Linked DNA regions of Homo sapiens: region 2 is linked to region 1. The links are contacts of gene promoters, found by promoter capture Hi-C in blood cells and fetal thymus (Javierre and others, 2016). All regions are on one chromosome and are shown on one strand. The core of a region is centred on a gene start or on the middle of the fragment in contact, and the rest is flanking DNA. Distances in the headings are between cores, read along the strand shown.

Region 1 (4,228 bases), core at 227-2,726:
CAAACAGCCAGGACGCATTGGAGAGGAATTTGCCAAAGATCTACCCTGAGATAACGCCTGTCCAGTGTCTTCACCACGTGAATAACCAGCGCTCCAAAGTGTTTTTCTGCTTTGAAAAAAAAAAATTCCACAAGCTTTTAAAGGTGCATTTAAGAATCCATGTGACTTTAGAATGGAACTGCCGGCCCTGGCAACTGTCACGTGTGCTAGAAGGTTCGATGCCTCTGGAATGCATGTGATACTCATCTCCATTTTGTTTCCTTGATTGCATTTTTGTTCTTTTAGCAGATCTGTCCCTGTGGGTGGTGTCTAAGAAGTCGGACACCTTGGTTTTTGTGTTAGATTGAGCTGGGCAGCTGCAATCAGCTTCTTTATATGCAAATTAGGCACGACCCATCTGTGGTTCCTGGTTGGTGGCTAATGAAGTGAGGGGAGGGAGGGATGTCACCCCAAAAGTAGGCCCTCCCATTGGCTTTGGCCAGGCCAGACACTTCACATCGTTTACATGGTTCTGTGTAATTTTAAAGTTTATGTGTATAAAGCGAAGCTGTTTCTGTGAAACTGTATATTTTGTAAATAAATATATTGCTACTTTGAGGTTCATGATTCAAGGTTCAGGCGATTGCGTTCTGTGCTGAAGGACAATTGTGTTTCTTTTCTCCTTGCTACCTCCCCAAAGCATGATTACATCAAGTCTCTGGGAAGGCAGCGTCTCAGTGTGCACTTAGCAGGATGGAAAATGCCCACGGTGTTAAGGTACCTTGCTGGTGAATTCCTTAGAAACAAACCACAGGACGAGTAGATGTGAATGGTTTTTGCAGTTTCTTCATCAGATTGAGGATTAGCTCAAGCCCCAGTGAGTGGTTAGCCTACTTTTGATTTTTTTTTTGTTTTTGAGACTTGAGTTTCGTTCTTGTCACCTAGGCTGTGAAGTGCTGTGATGAGATTTTGGCTCATTGTAACTTCCACCTCCCGGGTTCAAGAGATTCTCCTGCTTCAGCCTTCCGAGTAGCTGGAATTACAGGTGCCCGCCACCATGTGCGGCTAATTTTTGTATTTTTAGTAGAGATGGGGTTTCACCATGTCGGTCAGGCTGGCCTTGAACTCCTGATCTCAGGTGATCCGCCTGCCTCGGCCTCCCAAAGTGCTGGGATTACAGGCGTGAGCCACTGCGCCTGGCCGATTTTTTTTTTTTTCTTCTTACAAGATGACGCCTTCCCTATAGGCTGCTTTGAGAAAGCTGCAGCCTCGGAGTTTCTGCAAGGCCTGAACTGGAATCTCCCTCCCCTTCAGTTGCCCTTTTTGCCTCTTCACGTTTGGGGGTTCCCTGTGACCAAACTTAAGGGCAGTGAGCTGTCTGGCCTCTGAACTGACACCACCAGTGGCCAACTAGTACCACCTCCAGTGACGTCAGAGGAGTCCAGACCTATTCACAATTCAAAGCCCTAAAAACACTGAGGGGTTGGCCGTTGGTTTCCAGTTGTCCAAGCCTGTGAGTGGCTATGCGTCCTGGTTGGGTGCTCAAAGCAAGGAGGTGAAAGGCGACCAGCATTGGCGAATGGGGTAAGACTTGCACAGGCCCAAGGCTAGGAGTTGGGGTTTCGGGCCTGAATTGGGGCCCGGAGCACCCCTTTACGTGGCGCCCCGGGTCCCGTCCGACCCTGGGGAGACGCGGGTGGCTGGGATGGCAGGATGAGCGCGCCCTGGAGGCGAGCCAGGCCCGTCACCACCTCCCAGCGGCCCCGCCCCTCCCCGCAGGTCCCTCCCCTCTCCGCAGGCCCCGCCGCCGCCGCCATCTTTGTTGGGGGCAGCCAGGCCTGGCTCGAGATGCCGAAGTCGTGCGCGGCCCGGCAGTGCTGCAACCGCTACAGCAGCCGCAGGAAGCAGCTCACCTTCCACCGGTAAGAGGCGGGGACCCGGGGGCGCGGGAGGCCCAGACCCGGGGCCCGCGGACCGACTCCGAGGCCTTGGCGCGCCGGGCGGGAGGCCCAAAGGCGTGCGGCCGCTGGGCCCGGGGACAGGCCGAGGTCCTGGGCCCAGAGGGGCTGGCGCCGCCGCGCCCGCCGCGGGGATGCGGGGAGTGGCGGACGGAGGGGCAGCGGCGCACCTGGCGGGGCCAGGGCCGGGACGTGCAGGGAGCGGAGCAGGTGTTTGCTGAACAGACTAGCGGGCCGCGGCCGGGGTTTGCTGTGTCCCTGGTCGCTGCAGCCCCCGCCGCGCGCGGTCCTGAAGGGAGCCCGGCACCTGGGCAGTGCAGTGGAGGAGTGGAACCCCCAGGGGCGTCCTGGCAGTGGGAAGGGACTCTGCAGGGTCGCGGGAGGACGCTGGAGACTTTGGAGTCTGCTCCAGCACTCGCCCGGCCCGGCCCGGCCCGGCCCAGGAGCAATCGTCATTAGTCACAGTTGCGCTTTCTCCAAGGTCCAGTCACGGCACCATTTCTCTACCCACTTTTGGGCACATTCCGAAGGGGGGCTTGTGCTCATCGTTCCCATTCCCTCTGCTCCCATTGTTCTGTTTTGTGATAAATGCTTTGCTTGAAGTATACGTAATGTACATGCAGAAAAATGCACGAATCATAAGTATACAGCCCAGCGAGTTTTCCCCAAGTGAACGTCACTGAACTGAAACGTTACCAGCTGGGCGCGGTGGCTCAAGCCTGTCATCCCAGCACTTTGGGAGGCCGAGGCGGGAGGATCGCTTGAGCCTGGGAGTTCGAGACCTGCCTGGGCAACAGAAGGAGACCCTACCTCTACAAATAATTTAAAAAAATTAGCCAGGCAAGGTGGTGTGCCCCTGTAGTCCCAGCTGCTCGGGAGACTGAAGTAGGAGGATCGCTTGAACCCAGCTTCGAGGCTGCAGTGAGCTATAATCTTGCCACTGCACTCCAGCCTGGGTGACAGAGCGATACCTCATCTCAAAATAAGAAATAAAACATCACTACCCCCGAGAAGAACCCCTACCTGGACCCCCTCCCAGGCCCTCCTCCTCTCTCCTGCCCAAAGGGAACCCTATCCTGCCCGCTATCAGAGTGGATTGCAGTTCATTCGCTTTCGTTGCCACATAATATTCCATTGAATGCAAGTGCCAGAATTTACTGATTTGTTCTACAATTGAAGGGCATTTGGGTGGCCCCATTTTTTGGATGACAAATACATGGTTCTGGAGGCTGGGCGTGGTGGCTCACGCCTGTAATCCCAGCACTTTGGGAGGCCGAGCTGGGTGGATCACCTGAGGTCAGGAGTTGGAGACCAGCCTGACCAACATGGTGAAACCCCGTCTCTACTTCTCTACTACAAATACAAAAATTACCCGGGCGTGGTAGCGCGCACCTGAAATCCCAGCTACTCAGGAGGCTAAGGCAGGAGAATCACTTGACCCTGGGAGGCAGAGCTTGCAGTGAACCGAGATCGCACCACTACACTCCATCTTGGGCAACAGAGCGAGACTCCGTCTCAAAAAACAAAACAAAACAAACATTGTTTTGGCCAGTTTTGGTGGGACTTGTGTTGCAGTGCATCTATCTGTTTTGCCTCTGTCAGGTATGTACTTGGGGATGGAGTTGCTGCGCCTTCTCTCTTGAAGTCGTTTCCTCCACTCCCACGAGAGCTCTGTCACATCACTAGTGAGCCTTGTGACACTGATCGATTGCATAGCATTTCACACAACTGACCCCTGAGCCTGGGTCACTTTTCCCGCATGGCGTCTGGTACACTTCTTGGCCACAGGTGTCTCTTCTCAGTCTCCTTTGCTGGATCCTCCTTATTTCCAGCACTAAGTGTTGGAGCCCTGGGGTGTGGGCCATGGCCCAGGGGTGGCTTCTAGCCACACTTGCTCCCCAGGGGCCCATCTCACCCAGGCTTATCGGTTCCGCAGGGTTGGCCGCCACACTGACATCTCCAGATGCGTGTGGCCGCCTGTCACCCCAGCACATGGAGAGCCTAAAAAGCACCTCAAATTTAACTCCTGACATAAAAAACAAACTTCTTTTTTTGGAGACAGACTCTCACTCTGTTGCCCAGGTGGAGTGCAGTGGCGCAGTCTCGGCTCACTGCAGCCTCTGCCTCCCTGGTTCAGGTGATTCTTGTGCCTCAGCCTCCCAAGTAGCTGGGATCACAGGAGTGCGCCACCACGCTGGGCTAATTTTTGCATCTTTAGTAGAGATGGGGTTTCACCATGTTGGCCAGGCTGGTCTTGAACTCCTGAGTTGAGGCAGTCTGTCTGCCTTGGC
Region 2 (4,228 bases), core at 1,133-3,632, 400 kb before region 1:
TGGAGGATGGCATTAAATGCCAACACAGTCAGCTTACCATCCACAAGGCCAGCAGCTGCCAACAGCTGCCCTAGACCTATCAACAAGACAACTTCATGGCTCCCAATGGGAATGGAGGCTGGGCCCGCCCTACTTAGAGCAGGGGAAAGAACTTTTCCCTCAAAGAGCCGGGGCAGGATGCCAGAATCTAACTACATCCTCTCCCGGTTTGCAGTTCTAGGAAGTGGAATTTGCTGCCCTAGGCGTGGTCTAAAGGACAAGTTTAGAAATGATTCAACTCAAGTTCCTAAACAGAGTAAGTGCCAGTTGATGTCCCACCGTGGATCCTTTACTCCAGAAAAATTGTAATGATGGCTCGGCCACCGCCTTGGCTAGAGTCCCACTGCACGCGTGTCGTGAGGGCCGATGGGCAAGTCCGTCCGGTTTTTTTTGTTGTTGTTGTTGTTTTTTGAGATGGAGTCTCGCCCTGTTGCCCAGACTGAAGTGCAAAGGCCCGATCTCAACTCACTGCAACCTCCGCCTCCTGGGTTCAAAGGATTCTCCTGTCTCAGCCTCCTGAGTAGCTGGGATTACAGGCACCCGCCAGCACGCCCAGCTATTTTTTTGTATTTTTAGTAGAGACGGGGTTTTATCATGTTGGCCAGGCTGGTCTCGAACGCCTGACCTCATGATCCACCCGCCTTGGCCTCCCAAATTGCTGGGATTACAGGCGTGAGCCACCGCGCCCGGCCGTCTGTCTGGTTTTCAAACCAATCAATGAACCCGTAAGCCTCTTTGGTATATATAACAATGAAAAAATTCATTAAGCCATGAAATCTAGAAATAAGTCATATTTCTGAGTTGATAAAATGCTTTTCTGAACATACATTTTAGGTATCTGGCACAATTAACCAAATGTCTGCCCATTTTTGTGTAGCTTTCATACAGTACAGATTTCATTGATGTCGCTCCCACATCTGAGTATTAAAAACATTTGACATTGTTCTTCTCAGTCCTCACAACACCCCTGTGAGGTAGGTGGTATTGACCCCATTCCACAGATGGGGAGGTCTAGGCACGGAAAGGTTTAGTGGCTCCTCACAGGCCGCGTGGTGGGGCAGCAGAGTGGTGCTCTGGCCCCGCGCCGACGCCGCCTTCACATTCACACTTCTTCAGTGCCACCGCAACACTGCATGGCAGGATCTCACGCTGAGGCCAAGTTCCTGTCTAGTCCAGAATGAAGCCAGCGTCTCACCTCTTAAAGCTTCGATGTGTGACTCAAAGCCAACTTACTCTCCCAAACTTGCAAAACAAACATACTGACTGAATCTTAGTTGGGACTATTTGCAGTATTTAAGATTATTTTTGAGAGTCAATCTGCTTGGATTTGTAGTTGTATATGCTCAAATCCCTTTGGAAAACAGTTTGAAATGACATGAGGGACAATGTAATTTTGAGAACAGAACACAGAAAACAAGAGTTCTGAGACTGGCATTGAAATTGAGAATATAAGCTATGGTAAAATGAGAATCAAATCCCAAATAAACGGAGAGCAGCACTTCTCAATGTTTAAGGCCACGCACAGGGCAGGCATTCAGTAAGCACTTCTTGGATCAAAAGAAACTGATGCTCCTTTGAGCCGCCTATCACTGACAACAGGAGCTGAGACCCCCGGGAAAGCCAGCCAGGGCCATGATCCCCTTGGCCTGGGGCCACGGTCACACAAAGCCACTCAGCCAAATCGTGTAGAGTTATCTAGGCTTACTTGCTGCAGGATAAAAGTTGAACTAGAACACCAAGCATTGAGCTAGGAATACCCCTTTGAATGTGTACTGCTACTTATAAAAAATAGGTATGTAGCTATGATTAAATAGATGAAGGGCCAAAGCATCCTATGAGGAAGTATTTTTAAAATTGTATAGATGTTCATGCAGTGGGGGACAGAAATAAAGAGGTTAAAGCGGTCTGTGTTTTTCGGTTAAATGAAAGGTTGTAAATGCATTTTTACCGCTGATAAGAAGGGGTACCTGCTACCCCTTTCTGCTGTGGAGTGTTGCTGAGGACAGAGTCCATCTCTCCCAGCGAGTCCTGGTTATCCTTTACTTACACTCTGGCCTCGGGGGCAGTGGCGTGTGGCCTCGGTCCTCCCCAGGTAACTCTGGAGGGCGCTGTGGAATATTGCTGTGATTTGCCCCTTACTCGTCTTTCACCCATGTTCCGCCTTGATTCGGCATAAGGACAGACTGCTCCAGTGGGGCCTTGGGTCCTCAGGCCTTCTGACCGCTTGGTCTTGAGTGACATTCCAGAAGAGTGACTAATGACATAAAACGATTAAGAAAATCCATGTGGCAGCGGCCAACCGGAAACAGTTTTGTCCCAGGCTGCACAGGGTCGGAGGCCCCAAGGTCACCGGGGCCACTGCCCGTCACAGGTCCACCTTGACCCCCTTTATGAAAGGCAGGCCCGTGGGCACCCTCTTCTTATACTCCAGGTACTCCTCTCCAAAAAAGTGAATTAGTGAGATTTCTTCTTCTTCTGTTCGATCGCGGAAGAATCGCCACACTGTCAGGGCATAGCTGACGCCGCAGATGGGGTTACACAGCATCACCTAACAGAGGGAGACACCAGGCTCATCAGGGTGACCGTGGGATGACGCCCTGTGCTTTGGTAGGCGTCTGTCTCTAATACCCAGAGGATTTCTGTGCCCATGCCCTGCTGAGACCGTCAGGGTCTCTGGGAGCAGTACTGTCACCTTAGCCCTGAGCACTCAGTGCTGCAGGCCTTTCTCACGTGCTTTCCTGTTGCTCCTCTTACATGAGAGAGATCTGTAAATCACAAGATCAACCTCTTGGATTTCAACCCTCAGCTTGGGGTGACAGCAATGCCCCCCACCTCCAGGTGTGAGCTCCCCAACATGAGGTCCCATGCACGCTGCCTTCCTGCCCAGGACCCTCCCACCACAAATGCATTCGCTTACACCACAGCTGCCTGGGCCTCTGCCTCCTAAACCCACAGCCTCTGCTTCAGCACGAGATACAGTGCCACAAAACTCAGCTTCCGAAATGCCCCTTCCAGCAGATTACCTCCACGCTCAGAGAGCTCCAGAGACTGAACCCCACCCCCTGAGTCTGGGTTTCCAACCCCAGAAGAGCAGCACTTCGCCCACTTCCCCAGTCTCCTGCCCTCCCCACGCTGTGCCCACTTTGCCTCTTTTTTTTCCCCCGAGACAGATTGTCACTCTGTCACGTGGAGTGCAGTGGCGTGATCATGGCTCACTGCAGCCTTAACTGCTTGGGCTCAAGTGATTCTCCCACCTCAGCCTCCCAAGTAGCTGGGACTAAGGGCACATGCCACCACACCCAGCTAATTTTTGTATTTTTTGTAGAGATGGGGTTTCACAATGTTGCCCAAGCTGGTCTCGAACTCCTGGCCCTTTCTTCCACCTTTAAGAACATCCTGGCCAGGTACGGTGGCTCATGTCTGTTAATTGCAGTACTTTGGGAGGCCAAGGAGGGCAGATCACCTGAGGTCAGGAGCTTGAGACAAGCTTGGCCAACATGGCGAATCCCCGTCTCTACCAAAAATAGAAAAATTAGCTGGGCGTAGTGGTGGGAGCCTGTAATCCCAGCTACTTGGGAGGCTGAGGCAGGAGAATTGCTTGAACCCAGGAGGCAGAGGTTGCAGTGAGCTGAGATCGCCACTGCATACCAGCCTGGGCGACAGAGCGAAACTCCCTCTCAAAAAAAACAAAGAACATCCTTCCCACTGATCTCCAGCCAAACAGTCCTTCAAGGCCAAAAGCATTCCCCAGCTCCTCAGGGAACCACTCACCTACACCTGCCCACTGGTCCCCTGTGGATGTGCATCTTCCCCAACATACATTTTCTGTATGTTTTCTGAATATATATTTTAGGCTCCAATACAGCCACCCGGAGAGCCAGGCTCATGTCCTGACCTCTCACACCTTCTCTTATTGAGCACTTACTATGTTCCCAGCGCCATGCTAAGCCCTTTACAATCATTACCCTGTTCAACTCTCATGGCAAACCTTTGAGGGCACGCTACTATCCCCACTTTGTTTTTTTTAAAATTTTATTATTTTTTAAAGACAGGGTCTCACTATATTGCCCAGGCTGGACTTGAACTCTTGGCCTCAAGCCATCCTCCTGCCTCAGCTTCCAGAGTAGGGGGAACTACAGGCATGTGCCACTATGTCTAGCTGCCCCCACTTTAACATGAGAGGAGAAGG

What was found. The method cuts DNA at HindIII sites, captures the fragments that hold promoters and counts their contacts. A CHiCAGO score of 5 or more calls a contact.
Region 2: a fragment that was not itself captured here is called in contact with the fragment with the promoter of THAP3 in region 1 in 3 of 17 cell types (total CD4 T cells, activated CD4 T cells and naive CD8 T cells); the score reaches 6.4 in total CD4 T cells.

The regions. Positions count from the first base shown.
Region 1 is chr1:6,623,392-6,627,619 of GRCh38, forward strand. It overlaps THAP3 (THAP domain containing 3), which reads left to right and starts at 1,477. Exons shown (of 6, transcript NM_001195753.2): 1 at 1,477-1,563; 2 at 1,759-1,901. The coding sequence starts at 1,828. It overlaps PHF13 (PHD finger protein 13), which reads left to right. Exons shown (of 4, transcript NM_153812.3): 4 at 1-639. RefSeq lists a silencer at 1,868-2,277. The HindIII fragment of the contact is 4,820 bases long and covers 133-4,228 here.
Region 2 is chr1:6,222,676-6,226,903 of GRCh38, forward strand. ICMT (isoprenylcysteine carboxyl methyltransferase) reads right to left here. Exons shown (of 5, transcript NM_012405.4): 5 at 1-2,587. The coding sequence ends at 2,405. Among named protein-coding and RNA genes, the nearest start is that of ICMT, 11 kb to the right of the region's middle. The HindIII fragment of the contact is 2,283 bases long and covers 1,242-3,524 here.